Linked DNA regions of Homo sapiens: all the other regions are linked to region 1. Evidence: promoter capture Hi-C in 16 types of primary human blood cells and fetal thymus (Javierre and others, 2016). All regions are on one chromosome and are shown on one strand. Each heading gives the region's core, a stretch centred on a gene start or on the middle of the fragment in contact. The rest is flanking DNA. Distances are from core to core; before and after follow the strand shown.

Region 1 (3,392 bases), core at 546-3,045:
CCTTTAACGTTCAGGTACCAAATATGTAAAATGAAAAATACTTGTCCTCCCTACGGCAAGAATCATTATGTGCATCAAATATAAGCAAAACTTTTATGGCTAAAATAAAAGGATATGGAGAAGAAGGAATAATAAATTCTAATTCTGTTCATAAAGAAAAACATTTCAAATTTGTATTGATAAAATAAATTGAAACAGAATAGGGACATATTTGTAGCTTTTAGAAATAAATTAGCTGTGAATATATTATTTTTAAAAACTGTAATAAATGTACATTGAGTACAAATGAATAATTATCCCAAAAACCAGAATTTTAATGCTAGAAGAAAAGGCAGATCATCTCGTTTAAGACATAAATTTAATCTTCTTAACAAGAACCTTGTTATTCAAGCGGAACACCTAAATGGCTGCTCTTGTTAAAATAAACCTGAGGGTGGGCTTGCTTTGTCTCTCCCTGCACGGCTCCAGAAAATTTCTACACAAGTTCTCCTATGGAACAGTTTTAAAACCCCAGCTTGAGTACTAACACTAGTTTCTAAAAATAAGGAGAATACGGCCAAGAGGTAAAATTGTACAAAGGCAACTAGAGTCAGGACTAGAATCCAACTGTCTTGATTTAGTCTAATACTCTTCAGTCTACTAGTCTAGTATTCGCTCTATGTCCTGTTACTTCTATTTTTTTTTTTAAGAAAAAAATATGAAGGGTTTTTTTTTTTGACTCTGTAAATAATTCTTTCAAATCTCTTTCTGGCTCAAGATCACTCAACTGTAATCTTTCTGGAAACAAGTAATTGATAATATAGGTGAGATCAGATAAGTTAAAAGAGCCACCCCAAGTTCATTCTGTTCAGGATTAAGTAAAGGTAACACTTTAGGGGAAGGTGTTTAGACTACAAGCTGCGGTGTTGTGAGCGCCCAAGTATCATTTAATTGTCCGAAACGTCAAGATAAAATATTTCCGAGGGGCATCACGGAAGTTTAACAGAATGTGTTAGACTTGAACGTTCAACAGCTTGCTCATTTTGCCAAAAGCCCTTTCACTAAATGTGGGAAATTTGGAAAATGGTACCTCAATAAATAAACAAACAACGATTTTTAATTTAAGAACCCAGGAAAAAATGTTAACAATTCTCACATTCAGATTTCTTATCAAAAGTCAACGTGAAATATAACTAATTTATCGCAAGCAATTTTATCAGAAACTTTTCATTATCTCTTCCTCCATAAGAAAACCAAACTGCATTTACGTGCGCTTTCAACAGTGTTAGAAAACTAAGCACTCAAATTTTTTGTACTACATATAACACTTTACATGAACTTTCAGATATTAAGTAAAGTTTGGATCCTCAATTCTTTATAAAGCCGTTTATAAGAGGTAAATATCTTCACGACCGCCAAATGAGAGAAAAAGATTTCGAAGTTCGTCTCTTAAGTTACTACGTGGAATGCAGAGGGGCTCAACTGCAGCTGTGTGTGTGTTTATTTTTAATGCCGCGATCCTAAAAACATCTTTAGGAGTTTAGGTTTGCTTCACTGCCTTTCCCAAAATTCAGCAGCTTTGATTTGCCTTTTCCAGGGAGACAGGAAGCCAATAAACAGGGAAAAAAAAGCAAACGGCGACAATTACAAGGTCGTGAAACTCCACGACCTCCCAGCTGAAAACAAGACCTCGGGTTTGCACTCCGGCTCTCTAGGGCAGACACTGACCTTAGGAGTCTGCGAAACGCCCACGCTCCACGTAACTTTCTCTGAAACATTCTCTGGAAAGCTTGTCTTTTCCTAGCCGAATCTGGATTACCAAGGCTTCCGGAACTCGCAGGCTTCCGGAGCGACGCAGGAGCCGGAAGTGGCTGAAAAAAAAAAGAAAAAGTTACACCAACGAGAACTGCGCTTTAGCGGCGCTGCTGAAGGCACTGGATGGCCAAACAACCGCGAACGCCGACAAGCCGAAGAGCCGAAGGGCCGAAAAGCCGAAGCGGACACCCGCGCGCGGTGATTGGCCGGTTGGCCGGAAGAACTCTGTCTCTGATTGGCAGGAGAGTCACGAACCGGTCAGCCCCGGGTCAGGGGCCGCAAGTGAGGACACTACAAGTGTCGAGGGGCCTAGGGGAAGCCGGGGCTTGGGAGGGCAGGGCTTTCTCTGCTTGCGGACATCGCGAAGGGCCTCTGGCAGGCGCCGCCGGGTGGCGGCGAGACGCCTCCGCGCCTCCGGGGTTCCTTGTTCGCTGTCGGAGGAGGACCGGCTGAGGGATGGCCTGGTGGGGAGGGAGCCCTCGGGCAGGTGGCTGCGTCGGGCCTGGGGCAGTTGTGCTGCGCTTGGAGACCTGCCCGCCCTCGGGGCCTGTGTGCACAGGGAGGATAGGCTGTTTATCTCTGCAGGCTCAGGAAGGCAGGTAGCTGGCCCGTCAGTCATCCGCCCTGCAAAGCGCTCCCGAGAGACCCCGTAGAGCGGGCCAGCGCGCGCCTGGCCTGAGGTTTCCCGCCCCCGGAGGCCCTCACATCTCCCCGGTAACGCTTAGGAATTCGGGCAGCCAGCTCGCCTACCCCTGGGGAATCGAGGCAGAGCTTCTGGGAATGGGGTCTGAGGGAAGAGTGCTCACCAGGCAGTGACATGTAGCCGTTGAGGATCGCCACTGCCTTCTCGTTCTGTGGTATGAATGGCAGTGTCTCTCTAGAGAGTTAGTGCTTAAGTTTGAATGATGGCAGGCACTTCAGGATTCCAGCACGTAGTAGGGTTTAAGAACGTCTTAGTTCTTACCTCCAGTCTCGACTCACCGTTCCTACAAGGAACACTCACTTCTACGAAAGCTCTATTAGACATTCGAGGGAGAGCTTATACTGTAGAACCAGTGTTATTAGGAAAGTTTTTTTTTTTTTGCTTGTATTTTTATTTCAGAAACTACCCATGGAGCAGAGTTGCTAAAATAAAATTTATTAACTCTAATGCTATCCAAATTGTGAAACAATGGTACAAATGAGATAGAGTAGAAGCTACAAATTGATAGAGTATGTAGTTCACTTAGGGGTTTGGGAGTGGATTTTCTAGAGCTGCAACTGTCCAGTGTAGTAGTCACTGGCCACCTGAAAAGTGGCTAGTCTGAACTGAGGTCTGCTCTAAGTGTAGAACATGCACCAGATTTCTAAAGCGTGGTCTGAAAAGAAAAAGAATGTAAAGTATTTCATTAATTTTATATTGCTTACATGTCAAAATGAGAATGTTTTGGAAAATTTTAAATTACGTGGCTTCCATTATATTTCTATGGATACTGCTGTTCTAGAGAGTAAAAAAATCTCACTGAAGAAGAGTAGGCCTTTCGTTTAGCAACTGTGAAGAAAACCAACCACGCTGCACCTCTCAGGTAGCCTACAGATGTGCTGTGCTTCACTTAATT
Region 2 (3,392 bases), core at 266-2,765, 4.8 Mb after region 1:
AAAAAAAAAACAATACATTTGGACAGTACTCCCTCAGGGCTTTCAGGATAGCCCTGATTTCTTAGCCTGATCTGTAGAGAGGGATCTGAGGGATCTGCAATTGGAGAATGGAAGTATATTCCAGTATGTGGTTGAACTTCTTGTGTGTAGCCCAACCCAGGAGGCTTCTGACCAAAATACTATAAAAACGTTGAATTTCCTGGCTGACAGAGGATGTGAAGTGTCCAAAAAGAAGGCTCAGATTACCCTCCAATGGATCCAATATTTAGGGTATGTCTTAACACCGGGAACCCGACAAATATCCCCAGAATGAGTGCAAGCCATATGTGGTTGCCCCACAGCCACCAAGCGCAGCTTTGTTCTTTCTGGGGAATGGCTGGGTTTTGCAGAATATTGGTACCAAATTTGGGGCTTGTAGCAAAGCTCGTATATGAAGCAACAAGGAGGCCTGAAAATGAGCTAACGGAATTGACCCCAGAAATGAGAAGCCTTCACCAAGCTAAAATAGGCCCTTACCAGGCTCCTGCTCTTGGCATCCCAGACATAACTAAGCCCTTCTTGTATGTAGCTGAGAAGGGCGTAGCTGTGGGAGTGCTAGCCTAGAAATTAGGATCAGAACCCAGACCAACTGCCTGCTTTTCAAGGAAGTTGGATGGAGCAGCCTCGAGATGACCAAGTTTCCTGCAGGCAATAGCCACTGCTATGTTTGTGGAGGAAGCCACTAAAATCACCCTGGGCCAACCACTGGAAGTTCTAACCCCCCATCAGGTAAAGCCAGTCTTAGAGATAAAAGGACACATGTGGATGATGGAGGAAAGGTTAAACATATGCCAGGCCATGCTGCTAGACAATCCAGATGTAACCCTTAAAACTTGTAACACCTTGAATCCAGCTTCATTGCTACCCACAGGCCCAATAACTGATGATTCCTGTGAGCAGGTCATTGTACACACATATATTAGCTGGCCTAATTTAAAAGATTAGCCTCTCCCAGATTCTGAAGATAACTGGTTCACAGATGGCAGTAGTTTTGTGTCAAATGGGGAGTGCTGAGTTGGATATGCAATGGTAAATCACAACACCATTATTGAAGCCCAGCCACTGCCCCCTGGCACATCAGCACAAAATACTGAAATCATTGTTCTTACCTGAGCACTAATGTTGAGACAAAGGAAAAAGCTTAACATCTATCCAGATTCTAAATATGCGTTCCTTATGTTTCATGCTCATGCTACAATCTGGAAAGAAAAGGGACTACTAAATAGCAAATACTCCCCAATAAAGCACGGGCCTGAAATTCTTCAGCTGTTGGAAGCAATACACCTGCCAAAGGCTGTAGCTATAATCCATTGTAGGGGGCATCAAAGGGACTTACTTCCTATAGCACAAGGGAACAGAAGGGCTGATAGAGAAGCTAAAGCCGTATCCCTCAGGGTGCAATCCCAACAGATCCTAGCACTGCTTCCTTTCTATGATTCCTGAATGGATCCTGAATACACGCTATAGGAAGAACAGTTAATAAAGGAACAAGGGGGACAAAAATAAGTATCCGGGTGGTATATGGAATCAAACTAAATCTCCCTCAAACAGCCCAGTGGAGATGCCACCCTGGCCATGGTTAACAGGCTCTTCATTGGGCCTAACTTAGATTCAGTGGTTAAGCAGGTCTGTCAATCCTGCTCACTGTGTGCACTTAACAGTCCAGGAAACAAAATGCTTCCTCTAATAGAATCAGTCCAGAGGAGAGGAACTTACCCAGGGGAACACTGTCAATTAGACTTCACCCAAATGCCCGCTTGTAGAGGATACAAGTTTTTGTTAGTCCTGATAGATACCTTTACTGGTTGGGTCGAAGCTTATCCTACCAGAACAGAGAAGGCTATTGAGGTTATAAAGTTTCTCTTACAAATAAATAGTCCCTTAGTTTGGGTAACCTCAGAGTCTCCAAAGAGATAATGGCCCATCCTTTATCTCCCAAATAACTAAAGGGGTCGCTAAGACCTTCAGAATCAAATACTATTTACATTCAGCATGGAGGACTCAATTCTTCGGGAAAGTAGAAAGGGTTAACCAAACTCTAGAACAAGCATTAGGTAAGCTATGTTAGGAAACATCAGAAATTTGGGTCAGCTTACTGACTATAGCCCTCTTAAGGATCTGCAATACCTCTAGAGCAAAAATTAACATAAACCCATATGAAATGTTATACGGAAGGCCATTCTTAACTAATGATCTAATTACTGATCCAGAAACAGCTGGTTTAGTGAAATACCTAGTTAATGGACAATTTCAGCAGGCTTTCACAAAAGTTTGGAACTCAAAGGTTCCCCATACCAGGAGCTAACCAGCATCCCAAAATCAGGCCAAGAGATAAGATACTTGTTAAAACTTGGAAGGAGGGATCGCCTGCTCAACAACTACAGCCCAAATGGAAGGGAACATTTTCAGTGGTGCTGGCCATGCTTTCCATGGTCAAAGTATTAGGATTTAAATAATTGGATACATCTTTCAAGGATCAAGTCTGTGATACCTGAAGCCTCAGACCTGGAACCTGAAGTTTCCTTCAGCCACTACACCTGTGAACCTGTGGAAGACCTGAAGTGCCTGTTTAGAAGACAGCCAAAAGATAAGTAAATGCCTACCAACTTTCCTTGGTGTTTTTGTTGCATAGTTATTGTAGGTTGGATAATAATAGCCATATTTTTATATATTTGGCTGGATAATAATAGCCATATTTTTATATATTTTTGCAGTTTTTCTTTTTTCAAATGTTTGGAATCACTCCCTTTGTAGCAATTAAGCAGAATGTTTTAATTTCTCCCTATAACAAACATTCCTGATAGCATAGGTATCCACCCCCTGAAGTTCCCATTAGATCTTTTAACCAAATTCATTTCCTCTCACCTAGAGACCATTGAGCTTCATATGATCATGCAACAACATTGCCAGCCAGTTCCAAATGAAGATAGCACCCCCAGCGATCAATAAACTACCCTGCCTCCACTGGATAGAGCAGGGAAAAATTTCCATGATCAGCAATAGGTAGGGATTGCACCCCAAGTTAGCATGAAGCAGCTACAGAAGAAAGACCATCAATCCCTCTGCTTCCCATAAAGATTTATGGGAATCACATCTCTCAGGGGGAATATGAGGCAGGAAAATAGGGTCTGGAAGCAGGGAACCTAAGGTTTATTCATGCTGACTGGATATCAGAGGCTACTCTCTTTACGACCTCTCCTTCTCTGTGGCAGTTGAAAAATGAGACCAATATCCCTGATGAACATCAATGCAAAAATCCTCAATAAAATATTGGCAAACAGAATCCAGCAGCACATCAAAAAGCTTATCTACCACAATCAAGTCAGCTTCATCCCTGGGATGCAAGGCTGGTT
Region 3 (3,392 bases), core at 522-3,021, 4.7 Mb after region 1:
AAATTTGGTTAAGTTATCAACTGAGCCTTGGGTTCTTCTTCTGTCTAACAGAAACAGCAATACCTATTTTGCAGGGTTTATGTAAGGATTAGTGATAAGCATATATTTATTGATAAGCCTGACACATAGTCAGTGCTCAAAAGATGGTAGCTGTTATTACTGTCACTGGAAGGTAAGCTCTTAGAGGGCAGACTATACTTGCATTCCCTGTACCTTACACTCAATAAAGGCTAGTTAAACTGAAAAGCAACGGGAACAATAGCAGAATATGTGCTACTTCTCAACTCTCAAGGGCCTTAAAAATCTAATCAAGAAAATACACTCCAAAACTTATTCATGAAATATTTAGATAATAAAGAAAAACAATACTTACGACAACTTATACATGAAATTAGAGCAAAATGTGTGTTATAGACCATACATGCTTTACATGGCCAGCCAGGAAATGATAGGAGGTGGCTGGCTGCAGTTACTGTGAAATGATAAGTTCACATATTTGTGTGTTAGAAGATGCTTACTGTAAGCCTCCTATGGAAGTGTTCAATTTCTTTGGCAAAATTTTATGCTATCTATGCCAATGTTGGATAAATAGATTAACTTGCTGCTTTGTGTTTGTATGCTTGCAGACAAAATTGTGTTATTGATCTTGGGTATCAAGGTGAATTTGTCAGAGTAATGGGTGTTTTTTTTTTTTTTTTTTCTCTTAAACAGTGGCTGGCTAACAATCAAAAATAGGTTTTGGTAATGTTGGGTAACGTTGCTCAAATACGGCTATATTATGCAGAGCACATGGCAATCGTTGAAGAGTAAAACACAGATAATTCCACTTCTTTGTAGTGTGCTTGACACAGGTTTGCAGCAGTATTGCATCATCTATAAGCATTACATATGGCTGTCCTTTCATCTTACTAAATTATTTGCCAGCAGATCTAATAGATGGGCTGAGATAGTGAGCATGAACAAAAGAATGTTTCTCTTCTCCAGGATATTCTCTACTTTTTGTTACTTAAGTATCTATGTAATAGCATTTGACATACAGCCAAACACCAGGGCAGCCCCATTTAAGGTTTTTGATACACTGAGGATCATTCAGAAAACTTCGGATTCCTAGTTATAGAGTTGAATCCAACCACCAACACACTCCAGAAGTCCTGACATTAGGAAAAGAGATGGCCACCATCTTTCACCCACTTCAAGTCCTGTAAGGATGATCTAGAATCTACACTGTGCCAACTAGCATCCAGGCACACATCAACCTGCCCGGACTACCAAATGCAGAAACAAGCCCAGTAGCAGCAGCTGCTCCGAGCTTGCCCACACACCTGCATCCTAGTGGCAGACAAATATCCTGGAAGCCTTTGTGTCCACACACTCATACCTACATGACATACACTTAGAGGAAAAGATCTGAATATTCTTATTCACAAGAACAGAGGCCTGAATACAGGAACACTATGCTCACGTACACACAAAAGACACGCATGGAATAAAGCATTTTGCATATCCAGTCTTGCGCACTTACACTTTCAGGTCCTGCACAAGACCCCTGGACATCGGTTTGCTTTTCTTTGAGCCATTCACAAACTAGTTCCTCGTTCCTGGGACCGTCCCTAGTGTGGATAAAAGCCAACTTCCCACAGTCTTTGTCGGTCTTTTCAACTTTTCTCTGCTCTCGCTCAACTCCCAGAGGGCCGGGTGGCGCCGGCCAGCCGACGTCCCAGCGGTGGCCTCCCCGCCCAGCCGCTGTGCAGCGGGGCGGGGCCGAACTGGCAGCCAGGAAATGCCCTGGAGTGTGTGTCACCTGTCCAGGACGACTTGTTGATTCCCAGGAGGGCCGCCTTTCCGGTCTGGGTCCCCGAGAGGACTGCCTTGCTCACCTGTCCCCTCGGCGCGGCCCCGGGGAGCTCCCGAGAGGCCCCCGGGATCGCTGGCCCTCCGAACTCCACAGCAATGAGCAAGTTGGGCAAGTTCTTTAAAGGGGGCGGCTCTTCTAAGAGCCGAGCCGCTCCCAGTCCCCAGGAGGCCCTGGTCCGACTTCGGGAGACTGAGGAGATGCTGGGCAAGAAACAAGAGTACCTGGAAAATCGAATCCAGAGAGAAATCGCCCTGGCCAAGAAGCACGGCACGCAGAATAAGCGAGGTAGGCTGGGGTCTGGCCCACAGGCGGGAGCCCATCTGCCTCTAGCCTTTCCCTTGGGGACAATCGGCCCACACCACTGAGGTCCCCAGGTGGCCAGGTTTGCTCCTGCAGTCTTTTCTAGGAACTGGTACTGACTCTTAGGGCACTGACTAGGGTGAGTTGAGCTAGACACTGGCACTGATGGCAAAATGTAAGGGGCCGCCAAAAATCTCAGTAATCAAGATGAACAATACTTTAATGCAATACCTAAAGGACTCAGAACCAATGCCAAAAAAGAAATGATGAAGAAAATATCAAAATTTTAAATAAAGACAAGATTGGTATTGATTTTTTTCATTTGCCTCTAGCTCTTATGTTGTTATGTGCAGCACATCTTTATTTAAAATTATTTTTTATAATGTGATGATTTGTTCATCGTGGATTTTTTAATATTAATTTTGAATTTTAAAAATATTGCATTAAAATATTATTTGTCTTGATTACTGAGTGTTTTCGCACCCCTGTAAATTTTGCTCCTGGTCCAGCTTTTTCTAGGCCAGCCTTGCTGACTCCAACACTAACCATGAAGTTTTCTGCTGTATGTTTGTATATTAAATTACACATTTTAACTTGCACGTAAATCTTCAGAAAAGGATATTCTAGTACGTTGTGGTCTACCTTGCTCCTCAGCTGTGGAAAGCTTTAGCTGGATGTTCGGCAGTTGAAGTCTTAAAAAAAAAAAAGGTAGAGGAATTAATTATTAAATTTCCTATCACTGACTTTTGGCACACACAAGAGACTTTGAGTCAGTAATGATTCTTGGTGTTCCTGTTGCACCTTGAACACCTGTTCTTTGCCAGAGTTAACTGATTTCTTCAGTATACTGCTCCTTCTATTGGAATACCTCTAAACAGCACCTGTGGCACAGATAAAAACTCAGTGAGAAGTTGAAGTGATTTGCTCTTGTAACACCGGGTTCATGGCAGACCCAGAAAAGGAAGTGGCAATATCGGACTCTGCTTACCACCAAACCCAAACATTTGCACCCTCAAGTTGGGCTTCTTTAGTCATAATGAAGCCTTGGGAAGATTTGGCTCACTCTACAGGATGCTGCCATTGTTTAATGCAGGAAAGGAATGAAGTCTCAAGGAGATGAACTTGAGAACTCTGCCTCTTTCTGTAAAAGTGTGCCAGCTACATTTATGCCCACTTACCACCAACAATAAGAAGGCTGTTTTATTGCATATAACTTTTGTGCATATTATAGCCTGTT
Region 4 (3,392 bases), core at 505-3,004, 4.7 Mb after region 1:
TATATACTACACATAAGTATCTTTAGATATATATATCTAGTATATATATACTACACATAAGTATATATACTACACATAAGTATATATACTACACATAAGTATATTTAGATACTATGTGGAGTATAAATACTACACATAAGTATATTTAGATACTATGTGGAGTATATATACTACACATAAGTATATTTAGATACTATGTGGAGTATATATACTACACATAAGTATATTTAGATACTATGTGGAGTATATATACTATACATAGTATCTATGTGTAGTATATATACTATACATAAGTATATTTAGATACTATGTATAGTATATATACTATACATAAGTATATTTAGATACTATGTATAGTATATATACTATACATAAGTATATTTAGATACTATGTATAGTATATATACTATACATAAGTATATTTAGATACTATATATACTATACGTAAGTATATTTAGATACTATATATAGTATATATACTATACATAAGTATATTTAGATATATATACTATAAATAAGTATATTTAGATACTATATATAGTATACATTAAGTATATTTAGATACTATATATAGTATATATACTATACATAAGTATATTTAGATACTATATATACTATACATAAGTATATTTAGATACTATATATACTATACATAAGTATATTTAGATACTATATATACTATACATAAGTATAGATACTATATATAGTATATATAGTATATATACTATACATAGTATATTTATGTACTATACATATAGTATATTTATATACTATATGTAAGTATATATGTAAGTATATTTATGTACTATATATAAGTATATATACCTAAGTATATTTAGGTACTATATATAAGTATGTATACCTAAGTATATTTCTGTACTATATATAAGTATATATACCTAAGTATATTTCTGTACTATATATAAGTATATATACGTAAGTATATTTCTGTACTATATATAAGTATATATACGTAAGTATATTTATGTACTATATATAAGTATACAGAAGTATATTTATGTACTATATATAAGTATATATACTATACATAAGTATATTTATGTACTATATATAAAGTATATAAGTACATTTTATATATATTTTTATATATAGTTATATATAATATATGAATAGTTATATATATATAAATCACAGTACATTTATTGATGGGCAGGGTCCGTAGTTTACTCACTTTCATTTTCCCAAAGCCATAAACACCTGAACTGTTTCCTGCTGTTTCTGTCCTGGTCACAGCCTTCCAGCGTAGGAGCCAGGCCACCTTCCTTTTTGCCACCTGTCCCAGCACCGCGACTGCGGGCAGCACAGGACCTGGGCGCTGCCCCATCACTTAGAGTGACTACCTGGGCCTGGGGATGCACCAAGTTTCTAGGAGCTTTTCGGAGTTGGGGACATAAAAAGGGGCAATTATTCCACAGAAGCCGCCACAGAGGTTAAGTGAGGTCGCGTGAGCGAACCGCTACTCCAATGCCGGAACTGTTCCCGGTCGCCCAGGGCAGCTCCGGATAACGCAGCAGGCAGGGGTCACCCAGAGGCTGCCTCCACCCTAGGCGCCGACCGCGCACGGCGCTCGCGCCCGCTCCTGAGGAGGGAAGGGGCCTCCCTGGAAACCCACAGCGCCCGCTGAACCCGGAGGGTGCGGTGAGGAAAATAACGGTCTCACCTTGAGTCGGAGGACGTCCGGCTAGCTCTGTGAACGGTGTTACCGCACTCGTCTCTTCCGGAGGTAGAGGGGCTACTCGCAACAGGAAGTTCCGCCCTTAAAAACTCCATTCCTGAGGGGGCGTGGTTGCTTTGCTGGGCCCCGCCCCGAGCTGCGCCCTGCGAGCCTCTGCCAGGCCGGGCCGGGTCCTGACCCGCGCTGGAGCATGGGATACTGCCTCTTCATTCTAGCTTCTGGTTCTTTTCTCCTGCTTGTCTTTTCATCTCTCAGTTTTTAAACATTACTTCTCTCTTTACTTTGCCTTTTTCTTCTTTCGTCCTCCATTCATTCACGGTTTCCCATTTAGCTTGCTTTCTTCTTTCTCCCATTTATTCTATAGTACTATTTTGACAAAACCCAGATTGCAGATATGATTCCGATTATGCAGCTTTTAGGTGCTAACCTAAAGCTGGTAAACCTATACTAGATTAAAAAAAAATAAACTGATAACCAGAACCAACTGCCCAATTCTTGATAATTTACTTACATACTATTTATTGAGGACTTACTATGCTTCAAGCAATTGTGTGGGGTTTTATTGTTTTGTTTTTTTGAGACGGAATTTCACTTTTGTCGCCCGGGCTGAAGTGCAATGGCGCGATCTCGGCTCACTGCAACGTCCGCCTCTTGGATTCAAGCGATTCTCATGCCTCAGCCTCCTGAGTAGCTGGGATTACAGACGCCTGCCACAACGCCCGGCTAATTTTTGTATCTTGTAGAGACGGGGTTTCACCATGTTGCTCAGGCTGGTCTCAAACTCCTGGACTCAAGTGATCCGCCTACCTCGGCCTCCCAAAGATTACAGGCATGAGCCACCACGCCTGGCCGAAATGTGTTTTTATATGCATTATTTTCCTTAAAGTTTTAACAGTTTCTTGAAAAAGGTATGATTAGCTTTGTCAGACAGATGAGGAAACTGAGGCTCAGAGTAGTTAAGTGATTTGTCCTCAGGTCACACAGCAAGAGCAGAGAGTGAAACACACTGAGTTCAAAGTTTTGGGGTTCAGAAAATGATACCCCACAATGAAGGCCTCAGAAGCAGCCTTAGAAGGAAAAATTTTCCTCTGACTCCTTTTGGTCTCCTGTCTCTGGTCCCACATTCTTCCCCAGACTAGTCATAGAAGCTAGAATTCCTCTTTCCCAAATCAGGTCCCAGAAATCAGGACCCCTTTTTTATAAAGCCAGCCATAAAACATAAAAATACTACTCTAGGCCAGGCAAGGTGGCTCACGCCTGTAATCCCACCACTTTGGGAGGCCAAGGCAGGCGGATCACGAGGTCAGGAGATCGAGACCGTCCTGGCTAACACGGTGAAGCCCCGTTTCTATTAAAAACACAAAAAAATTAGCCGGGTGTGGTGGCTGGCACCTGCAGTCCCAGCTACTCGGGAGGCTGAGGCAGGAGAATGGCATGAACCTGGGAGGTGGAGCTTCCAGTGAGTGGAGATCGCGCCACTGCACTCCAGCCTGGGCGACAGAGGGAGCCTCCGTCTCAAAAAAAAAATATATATATATAGAGAGAGAGATATAGATAGATAGATAGATAGATAGATAGATAGATAGATAGATAGATAGATAGATATTACTCTAGCATTCTCCCTGTGTTTCTATGTAAAATCTGACCACGAAGAAATTATATGACTCACCCTGTCTGAGTTTAGGTCATAAGACCC
Region 5 (3,392 bases), core at 262-2,761, 3.7 Mb before region 1:
CAAGCAATACACCATCTGTACAACTTCATTCCATAATTAGTCTTAATTCTGACCCTGCAGAGGCCACTGATGGCCCTCACTATTCCTCTAAAACCTGGAAGCCAAACAGGCTCTGACATCTTCTGAGGCACAACTACCCTTCATGACACTGGATGTGCTAACACTGGGAACTGTACTCTCTATCTACCAAAGCAGTAAGACAAAACTGAATTTATAACTTAAAAACCCTCTGGAGGCAGTGGGTCATGCCTGTAATCCCAACTATTCAGGGGACTGAGGCAGTAGGATTGCTTGAGGCCAGGAGTTCAGTAACATGCTGGGGAATACAGGCTGGTGTGGATCTCATCTCTACAAAGGAAAATTAAAAAATAAACTCTTTGGCTCTACCTAGATATCCATGTACTATTTCAAAATATTGACCCAACTGCTAAGACAAAAAACATCTAGCAAAACACTGATACAATCATAAATATGTAAAATGATTTTTATAAACGATCATCTTGATTTCTCTCCAAAATTCACTGACCCTAAACAAACTTACTAAGCCAGAGAAATAGGTCCCAAAACCAGGAACAAAGAACTCAAAGAAATTCTATTTGTCTAGCAACTTTCGAATATTAAAAAGCAATAAATGACTGTGGAGCAGTAGTACCAAAATAATTACTAAGGGAGCTGTTTCAGTGTGTCAGAACTTTGACAACTAAATGAGGACCACAAACATTTTTACTCTCATTCTATGTACTTCATGTTACACTCTACATTGTTCACTAGTCTAGGTGAAACAATACATGAAGTATAAAGGAATGTTATTTACAAAAAAACCTTTGAAGTTTTTGCCCATTAATTTCATCAGATGCTCTGAAATAATTTGCATCCCTGGGCACAAATTTCATGCCTTCCTTCATAATACCCACAGTATGTAACAATTATTAGTAACTCACGTAAGTATGGCAAAAGATGCAAAACAAGAACACAAAAATGGAATGCAAAAGGAAAACAACACATTTACATGGCAGTTTATAAACAAGCGAAGGCCCGAGAAATAAATTTTAGCAACTAAATTCAATTTTTTCCATAAACCAAAGTTGGATTACCTTACCGACAAATCATGTACAAATGCTTGTGAAACAGGCTTTCTTAGAATAAACCCATTTCGAATCACTCAGCACAGTTAAAAAACAAAAAATTAAAATCTTTTGTATAGAAAAGCCTTTTAAAAACCCAAGAGATGTCTTTCACACAGACTCGACCCTGATTTTGCACGAAATGGGCTGTTGATTTGGCTTAATTTTATCACACACCACACTTGCCACAGTAGTTAAGGGAAGACAGAGGCAGGCTAACAACAACAACAACAAATCACAAATACAACAATATATTTCAATTTGAGAGCAGGTACTGTTTATTAACCAACCAGCTTAGAAAAATAATCATGGTAGACACCTGAAAGGAAAAAAGAAAACCATTAGAAAACACTTTAGGCAGCTAACAATTAACATAAACTAGGCAGTTATAAAGTAATGATTGAGTTTACATTTTTAAGACCACCCAATTTCCATCTTTAAAGACTCCCCAAAACAGGCTTTTCCTTTCCTCCAGAAAGGTCCTCAAAAGCAGTAAACAAACCAACTGTAATCATTAAGATAGTTGACCCCCACTCCCCACAAAAGCACTGATTAAAATTCAAACCCCCATCAATATTTAATGGGAAAAGTATTCAAGATTACCACCACTTATACTCTAACATTAACTCAACCTTTCTCAGGATGAGGTCTCTCACCTTAGTTCATTCTTCTAATAAGCCTGTTGATCTGGTCCTCCCTGTTGCCAGCATCTCCACCTTCTACAAAATGGGTGGTCTTTTTCTTCATTCCACCTCGTGGAGAAGACAATTTGAAGGGCCACAGGAAGTTATTTGCCTCTTTGAAGCGTTTTCCAACAGTATAGATCTCATGAATCAAATCCTCCATGCAGATGATGCCGTATTTACCTAAATATTTTAAGGTTATTTAAGATTATTAAAGTTGCAAAAAGTTTTGAAATAATTATTCAAAATCTTTTTGAATAGGCTGTGAGATGAAAACATAACCAGGAATAAACAAGGTAAATGCATGGCTTTACAAAGATAAGGTTCAAGCTAATGAAACCATGTCTTACGTTTTCTTTTAAGCTAAATCAAGAATCATAGGGAACACATGAAGATTCACAATAGTGAGAAATGTACGGCCACAAGAGGGTAAGAAATTATCGCATGGTCTAATACCAAATTTTCCCCCAAATAGAACCTACCAAGAGATCGAGCAATCAAAGCGTTATCTGTCAAAGCAATTCGCTTCTTATTGATTTTGCCATAACCACGCTTGTAGATTAGTTCATTTACTGACTTCAGATTGGGGTACCTGAAGTGAAAAAGCAAACATAAATAAGGTGACCACTGTTAAAACATCTAAAATTCATGTTGCTACATAACCAATTTATCAAATAGAAATCAAAGGAGAAAAGAGACTTACCCCCATGCAATATATGGCTCTACAATCCTCAGCATGTTAATCGAAGCCTTGTTGAGCTTCACAAAGGTTCCATTGAAGATTTGACGAAGGCGAAGAAGCTGCAACACCTTTCGAACCTTTGGGCTCACTCCATTGATACTGTGGTGAAAACGGACCAGAAATGCATTTGCCTTTCATCGAAATTTTTATTAATACTAACCATTATAGTTTTGAATATCGAATCCTACCTAAACAGATAGGAATCCTCTCATGTTACACACTGAATTTCTGTATTCTATTAAGAGAAGGGATAGGAGCTTGGGGAACATGGCTTGCAACTAAACCATTAGTGATCAGCACCCTCCTTGTTCTAGCTTCCCCTAAAATATTGTTACTCCGGTGTTTCAGAATCAGGGCTCCCAGAAGTAATGTGAAGGTTTTTTTTTTTTTTCCCATTCAAACCCGAATGCAGTAAAACTGAACTTACCCTCTGATTCTGATGACAAACGCCAATTTGGGTTCTGCAGGTACATAGAAGTTGCCAGCTTTTCTTGCCATCCTCGCCATTCGAATTTCAGTTCTGTACATCTGCCTATATTCCTTGTGATAGTGCTTTGCTTTTTCATAGATAAGCTTCCTCCTTGCCTTTCGAAGCTGAAAACCAATAATCAGTTATTCATAATTTTTAGCTCAATCACAATTAGCAATGCCAATCATTAAAAAGAAAACTACAACATGTTTCCTTTAAATCTTTTCTTGCCACAGTATGCAATTACATCCCCCACCAAAAAACCCCACTACCTTCAGATTGTAACATTAGGTAGCTAAGCAATTACTCAGTACAGTTAGGAAGTAAATCTTGCCAAGAACATTCACCTCATCCTCAATCCCAATAAGGCGCCT
Region 6 (3,392 bases), core at 279-2,778, 3.3 Mb before region 1:
AGAGTAAGTCTTGGTTTTGGTAGTTTTATTAAATAAGATTTTTCCACCGCAGCTGAGTTCACAACAGTGTACTTGAATCATCTAAAGAAAGCAAGGACGGGGAAGAAATATCCTGGAGAAATGTTGAAATCTTTTCTCCTCCAAGGTTACTATCACCCTGCCTGTCCATCACAATTTTGATTTCAAGTATTCACGATGCTGGTCTGAAACACAGGATGCATCAGAAGCCAAGTAATGCTCAGCAAAAGTTCACCAAAATTGTGAAAGCAAACATTAAATAAAAAACGTTTTCAATTAACAGTAAAATATCTTTAAAGGATCATCTCTAGCCTTTCTTTCTGCAGGATCCACCCACTTTAAAATCCTTTGGTAAATTCCCAGGTCTACCCTAATTGAATGGTCCCTCTCTATCTGCTCAAGCAGTTCTTAACCCTTTGGAGTGGGGATGGGGGTAAGGGGACATCACAGCAAATATGGACCCTTACCAAAGAAAATTATTCACAAATGCAAAATTCTACACACATTTCCAAAGACTTCCAGAATCCCACGGCCATTACCCCCACCGCCTCCCTAAGAATCCCAGAGTGGCGTGCTTCTCAATGGCCTCTGCGGAGCACCCCCAGCCCCCAAGCCACAGCCCCCGGCTCGACCCCGAAGAGACTAGAGTTCCTGCTCTCACACAGCGGATTCCGTAACTGAGCTTTGTCTCCTCGCCCAACTCCCTTCACCCCGGCAAGGTCACTACCGCCAACTACCCCTTTAAGCCGAGCCATCACGGTAGGAGTTCGTAACAGCCACAGCAGAACTTGCCTGTCATAGGATATATTTTGTCCCCTCGGCCCCACCTACCCTCCCCATTTCGGCAAGTTACGTCTTTACCACTAGCCCATTCTACAGAAATAGCTGCCGCCGCCACCCTCCGGCGCGCCCCGGCCCCGCCGCTCCGCCTCCAGCGCCCCCAGGCCCATTTCCCGCAGACCCTCCCCGGGCCGCCCTCCCCTGCCCTACTCTAGGCGCTCCCTCTCCCTCGCAGCCACACCGTGGCTGCACTCGCCGTCCTCTCTTCCGGCCGCTACCACCCCGGCCCCCTAGAACCCCAGCCTCCCGCGCCCGCAGCCGCGTTCCTGTCTCCCCGACCTCCGCACCCCCACTTGGCCCGGCCTCCTCGCCTTCCTCCCGGCTCCTCCCCTCAGGACACCTGTGTCGTCCCACCCCCTCCACCACACACGCACCCCCCACCCCAATTCCTTCGCCTCCCTGTCCTCCCTCCCCCGCCGGTCTCCCCTCCCCGCTGCTGCCCCGAGAGCCCGATGTGGGAGGGAAGGCGCGGGGGAGGGGAGGCCGCGAAGGGGGCTGCTTTTCTCCGGGTTCCCCGTGCTGCGGAACTGCAGGGCTCCCCAGCGCCCTCTGCCTTCTTCGCCGGCGGCGCGGAAGTCGGGGTCTCCCGGACGCCCCCGATGAGGGTATTTACCTTCTTGCCGGGGACACTTTGCAGACGGCTCCAACATTGGCAAACACTACAGAGAACTGACCCCGCTCGGCCGCCGCCGGCTTCCACCCCTCGGGCTCCCCGCCCCCCGCCTCCGCCCGCCTCCGCCCGCCTCCCCGGCGCTCCCGCCGCGCCCTCCCGCGCTCGCGCCGCGCGCCCCCGCCTGCGCAGCCGCTCCCGCGCCCCAGCACGCCCGGCCGGCGCGCGCGCCCGGCACCGGCTCTACCTCCACTCCGCCTCCCGCCGGCCCGCGACCAAGCGCGGCCATTGTTCGCGACGCAGCTCCCGCCCCCTGGCGGCTGCCGGGCCCCAGCAGCTGCAGGCTCTGCGGGGCTAGCGGCGGCGAGCTGGGCCCCTGGGCGAGGGCCATTCCCGGGGGGCTTGGGCACGCGGGCGAGCGACTGCGCAAGGAGCGCGCCCGGTCCGCAGTCTCCTCGTCCCCGGCGCGACTCCCCGCCCCCTCGTCTGCCAAGGGTGGGCCTGGGGCAGCCCCTTCCACACCTGCAACTCGGCAACTTCCTTCCCCGCCCGACTGACCGTCTGCTCTTTCTGGTCCGCACCCTGTGCTCTGATTCCCCGCTCGTACCTTTCCCAGGCTCTCCGGCTGCCCCTCTGTGCTGTGCAGGGGACGCGCGACCATCCCGCGTCTGCTCCGGCCGCCGCTGTGCAACGCACGGTTTAGCGGATCTTGCACCTTTCTAGACGGGGGAGGGGGCGGGGAGGAGGTTGCTTCACCGTCTCGCCCAGCAAACACCAGGGATCCGTGATCACCTGCTCGCCAAGACCCGCGGCGTGGCCAGACCTCCTCTTCTACCGAAAATATTAGTCACATGAAAAAGAATCCTTGGAGCCAAAAATGAGAACCATTGAAAACAATGCCCTGAATCCTAGATTTATGAGGCAAGAGTGCCAGAAAACAGAAATTACGTCTTAATTCGTCCTGGTTTTGATGTGGATTACTTTTGTCTAGATAACTTCAACCCAGTTAAGCTCAATGAAACTGAACACTTCGTTTAGTAACCGGCACCAAAAATAATCTGACAAAGAAATTTCGAAATAGAACTATTAGTGTGTTTTCACAAACTTACTCGTTTGCAACGTTATTTCTAGGGTTTCTTCCCAGTGTCACTTCTCTGACTGAGAAATGTCTCCCAGGCCGGTGATTTCAGTCATCATCTAAAACCAATCTCATGTCTGCACCTGGGAAGGTAGTGTGTGTCCTGGTTAACCGCAAGGGCGCCAGAGTCAGATAACCAAGGCTGGATATCCGCTTGCTAACTGGTGAGGAGACCACGGGCATGTTACTTATCCTGTGCATCAAGAGGAGACTACATGTGATAGATAGTTCGTATTTAAATGTGACAATACATATGAAGCCCTTTAAATAGGACCGGGTATGTAGTACCTCTCCTGGTACAATGTTAGCTACAGCTATATTTTTCCTCCCAGAACTCTTTCCTATGCTCCTTTCCCCCCTTTTCACCTCTGCCAGTTCCCTCGGATTTAACATGTTGCATCCTCCCTAAATTTGCTGTGCTCCTTCTAGCGGCTTACGCACCCAGTCAGCATTCTAATACAGTCATGCCTTACCTAGCCACAAGGATATGTTCTGAGGAACGTGTCATTAAGCGATTTTTGTTGTTTTGCGCACATCATAGCGTGTTCTTACGCAAACCTAGGTAGTCTAGCCAACTACTTGCTTTGGCTATATGGTATATAGCTATTGCGCCTAGGCTGCAAACCTGTACAGTGTGTTACTGTACTAATACTGTAGGCAATTTTGCAACACAAGGGTATTTGTACCTAAACAGAAAACCTACAGTAAAAGAACTATATAATCTTTTTTTTTTTTGAGACGAAGTCTCGCTCTGTCACCCAGGCTGAAATGCAGTAGCACAATCTC
Region 7 (3,392 bases), core at 465-2,964, 3.0 Mb before region 1:
GGTATTTTTACCAGGCAAAACTGGAAAGGAGGGAGATCCAGGCAAAGTGAACAGTATGACCTCAGTCAGACAGCTTGGGGCACACAATGTAACTCAGTGTTGTTGGAAATCAGTTTACAGATTCATTCATTCAATAAATATTTACCAAGGGTTAGGATGCTAGATGCTCACCTAGGCACTGGGGACAGAGATGAACATAACAAACATTCCAACCTAATGGGAAGAATGGTGGGGACAGAAAACCAAAACAAAATAATACATACGGCATGGTGAAGAACTAACATTAACAGAGATCTGAAGAAAGCAAGGGAATGAGTCACAGATATTTGAAGGAACAGCTTTTTATGGAGGGAGAATGGCAAGGAGAACAGTCTGGCCAGATGAGTGAGTCAAGAAGAGAGTGTAGGAAGATAGGAAAAGAGGTGAGAGTTTGGGAAGTTGGACTTTATCAAAGAGGGGAACAGTGACACATAAGGAACACATACTGAGATACTGACCAAGCCATGGGTCTTTTTTTTTTTTTTTGAGACAAGTTCTTGCTCTGTCACCCAAGTTGAAGTACAGTTGTGCAATCCTGGCTCAGTGCAGCCTCAACCTTCAGAGCTCAAAGGATTCTCCCACCTTCTTCCTGAGTAGCCTGCTACCAAGCCCGGCTAAAATTTCTTTTTTTTTTTTTTTTAAGTGGAGGTCTCCCTGTGTTGCCCAAGCTGGTCTCCAACTTCTGAGCTCAAGTAAACCTCCTGCCTTGACCTCCCAAAGTGCTGCGATTATAGGTGTGAGCCACCACACATAGCCCAAGACATGGGTCTTGAATGCCTAATATAATAGTAAACAACACTACATAAGAATGTATTCCTCCTTTGCTACATTATCCTGTTTCATCACTCCTATCTATCCTTTTGCTGCTATCATTTCTGAAGACTTGATTTCAGCCCTCCATATAATGTAGTGCTTAAAATCAGTCAACTCCTAGCTATGTCACTGCGGGAGAACTAACCTAATCTTTCCTTGCCTGGTTTCTTCAACGGTAAAATGAGGATAATACAGCATCTACCTCACAGAGCTGTTCTGAAGAATAAATGGCTTTACATATAAAAGCACTCAGAATACTGCCTAGCACACATTAAAACACTGGCCATTATTCTATTTTTGAACCAGAGGTTCATTTCTATATGTATCAAGGGCCTACCATGTGCCAGGCACTGCTCTACATGCTTGGGAGGAATCTGTGGACAAAATAAATCCAACAACCTCTCCTCCACCCGTATCCTGGAATTTACATTTTTAGTGTGGGGGTTGACACACTAAAGGGCCAAAAAATAAGTATTTTTTGCTTAGCAGGCTGTAAGGTCTCTGTTACAACTACTCCAACTCTGCCACTGGAGTGCAAAAGCAGCCACAGACAAGATGTAAACGATTGAGTGTGGCTATGATCCAACAAAACTTTATTTATGGGCAAAAAAGGGTACATTTTATATAATTTTCTTTTCTTTTTTTTTTTTTTTTGAGACAGAGTTTCGCTCTTGTTACCCAGGCTGGAGTGCAGTGGTGCAACCTTGGCTCACTGCAACCTCCACCTCCCAGGTTCAAGTGATTCTCCTGCCTCAGCCTCCCGAGTAGCTGGGATTACAGGCATGCATCACCACGCCTAGCTAATTATTTGTATTTTTAGTGGAGACAGGGTTTCACCATTTGGTCAGGCTGGTCTCAAACTCCTGACCTCTGGTAATCCGCTCACCTTGGCCTCCCAAAGTGCTGGGATTACAGGCGTGAGCCACTGCATCCGGCCTATAATTTTCATGTTATAAAATACACATTTACTTTGAATTTCTGTCCAACTATTAAAACATTTAAAAACCATTCTTAGCTTGCGGGTAGTATAAAAGCAGGTAGTGGGCCAGATGTGGCCTGTGGTTCTAACTTGTTGACTCTGTTCTAGCAGGTTCTTAATCTGCAGTCCCCCATTCCTCGAGGTTCACAGATAAGCAGTAGAATCCCAAACCCTTCAATCTGTAAGCACAATTTTGTGCCTATGTGCAGTTCACAGTAAGAGGCATGAGAAGGTCCACAGCTTTCATCTCTTATCATAAATTAAGAACTAGCCCAGTTGAATGAAAATCAATGGCTACCTTATATAGACCCGAATCCATCTCCACATCTGAATTTCTACTCTGTTTGACATTTCTATCTTGAGACTCGGATAAATTAAGTGATAGGACTTCTGTTTCTTCATCTTCCAAATGAGACAATTGGACTCAATTATGTCCAAAAGTCCATTCTGGCTCTATTTCATGACTAAATCCATCTGAAATTCATCCTTCCCAGACAACCACCTATAACTCAGCTTCCCATGTTTATTACCCAGAGTCGCCCTCCCACAACACAGAACTTAAGGGCTGCAGAGCGCTGCATGTTCTGAGTCTGTCTGCCTCACCCCTGCAAACGACCTAATTATTCTCTCAAATAATATCTCCAAACTCCCTTGTTTCAGTTTTAAAATTATAAGCAGATATTCCCAACATATAATGTGTATTAATCATAGATTCTACATATTAACAGAACCTTTCGAAAGATAGGCTAAAAATAAACTGAAACCAATCACTTCAGTTGCCTTGTCTCTCCATCTTCAGCATTCCTGTGTTTATATATTTTGTCCACCCTGCTATTTCAAATATTGAATAAAAACTGTCCTTCCTACTAAAGGTCAACCTTTCCACTTAAGCAATGATTGATATTCCGTCACCTAACTAAAGACTCTGCTATGGCCATTATTCCCATCCACTTCTTAACCTATTCTGATCAGCCTTTGGCCCACCAGTCCATTTTAGGGGTTCTTATCAAATTTCAACTACTTCACTTGGTCACATGGTCAATTTTTAATCCTCATTTAGCAGTGTTTTATACAATTGCCTACTCCCTCCATCTTGAAACATTTCTTCCTTAGTACTCCAGATGTCACACACTCCTGGCTTTTCTGCTTCCATTACTGTATGCTCCTCTTCTAACTGGAGTGCTCCCAGTCATCTGCCTTCTTCTCCATTTAACATTCCCTATTTGATGTCCTCCAGACCAGAGGTTATCATCTATAAAATATGACTCCCAGATCATCTCCCTAGTTTTTCTCCCGAGTGCCAGTCGTGAATATCCAACTTTTCTACTGCACATATTCTCAGGTGTCTACTAGTTATCGAACTCAGTAAGTCCCATATAGAACTTCTGATTTATCAATCTCAGAAACTGATACTCCCTTCCTTTGTCTTCCCCATTTCAGTACATGCACTGCTGTTTACCCAGATTCTTGGAAAAGTGATTCGTTATTCAAAAAACATTTTTTTTTGTTCGTTTTGTTCCTGGGAAGAAAGCAAAACCCATTTGGCTCCAGCTTCAAATTA

What was found. Contacts are between HindIII fragments. The CHiCAGO score rates a contact against its expected background, and 5 or more counts as called.
Region 2: a fragment that was not itself captured here is called in contact with the fragment with the promoter of PEX2 in region 1 in 1 of 17 cell types (non-activated CD4 T cells); the score reaches 7.8 in non-activated CD4 T cells.
Region 3: the fragment with the promoter of CHMP4C here is called in contact with the fragment with the promoter of PEX2 in region 1 in 1 of 17 cell types (non-activated CD4 T cells); the score reaches 8.8 in non-activated CD4 T cells.
Region 4: the fragment with the promoter of IMPA1 here is called in contact with the fragment with the promoter of PEX2 in region 1 in 4 of 17 cell types (total CD8 T cells, total B cells, non-activated CD4 T cells and 1 more); the score reaches 7.8 in total CD8 T cells.
Region 5: a contact is called between a fragment that was not itself captured here and the fragment with the promoter of PEX2 in region 1, in 1 of 17 cell types (total B cells). The highest score is 5.3, in total B cells.
Region 6: the fragment with the promoter of STAU2 here is called in contact with the fragment with the promoter of PEX2 in region 1 in 1 of 17 cell types (total B cells); the score reaches 6.5 in total B cells.
Region 7: a contact is called between a fragment that was not itself captured here and the fragment with the promoter of PEX2 in region 1, in 1 of 17 cell types (naive CD8 T cells). The highest score is 5.1, in naive CD8 T cells.

The regions. Positions count from the first base shown.
Region 1 is chr8:76,998,283-77,001,674 of GRCh38, forward strand. PEX2 (peroxisomal biogenesis factor 2) reads right to left here and starts at 1,796. Exons shown (of 4, transcript NM_000318.3): 1 at 1,708-1,796. RefSeq lists an enhancer at 1,791-2,085. The HindIII fragment of the contact is 1,935 bases long and covers 1,767-3,392 here.
Region 2 is chr8:81,846,478-81,849,869 of GRCh38, forward strand. LINC02235 (long intergenic non-protein coding RNA 2235) reads left to right here. Exons shown (of 8, transcript NR_170320.1): 3 at 2,514-2,630; 4 at 2,909-3,042. Among named protein-coding and RNA genes, the nearest start is that of LINC02235, 5.6 kb to the left of the region's middle. The HindIII fragment of the contact is 676 bases long and covers 1,178-1,853 here.
Region 3 is chr8:81,730,677-81,734,068 of GRCh38, forward strand. CHMP4C (charged multivesicular body protein 4C) reads left to right here and starts at 1,772. Exons shown (of 5, transcript NM_152284.4): 1 at 1,772-2,140. The coding sequence starts at 1,951. The HindIII fragment of the contact is 11,241 bases long and covers 1-2,817 here.
Region 4 is chr8:81,684,571-81,687,962 of GRCh38, forward strand. It overlaps IMPA1 (inositol monophosphatase 1), which reads right to left and starts at 1,755. Exons shown (of 9, transcript NM_005536.4): 1 at 1,682-1,755. RefSeq lists an enhancer at 1,501-2,001. The HindIII fragment of the contact is 6,947 bases long and covers 1-3,392 here.
Region 5 is chr8:73,289,263-73,292,654 of GRCh38, forward strand. It overlaps RPL7 (ribosomal protein L7), which reads right to left. Exons shown (of 7, transcript NM_000971.4): 3 at 2,977-3,143; 4 at 2,511-2,648; 5 at 2,290-2,399; 6 at 1,781-1,990; 7 at 980-1,443. The coding sequence ends at 1,782. Among named protein-coding and RNA genes, the nearest start is that of RPL7, 2.7 kb to the right of the region's middle. The HindIII fragment of the contact is 3,218 bases long and covers 1-3,120 here.
Region 6 is chr8:73,745,312-73,748,703 of GRCh38, forward strand. It overlaps STAU2 (staufen double-stranded RNA binding protein 2), which reads right to left and starts at 1,529. Exons shown (of 15, transcript NM_001164380.2): 1 at 1,472-1,529. RefSeq lists silencers at 932-991, 1,102-1,281, 1,572-1,661, 1,742-2,031. The HindIII fragment of the contact is 14,890 bases long and covers 1-3,392 here.
Region 7 is chr8:73,965,979-73,969,370 of GRCh38, forward strand. The region is part of intron 1 of ELOC (elongin C); the gene reads right to left. Among named protein-coding and RNA genes, the nearest start is that of ELOC, 4.5 kb to the right of the region's middle. The HindIII fragment of the contact is 3,809 bases long and covers 1-3,392 here.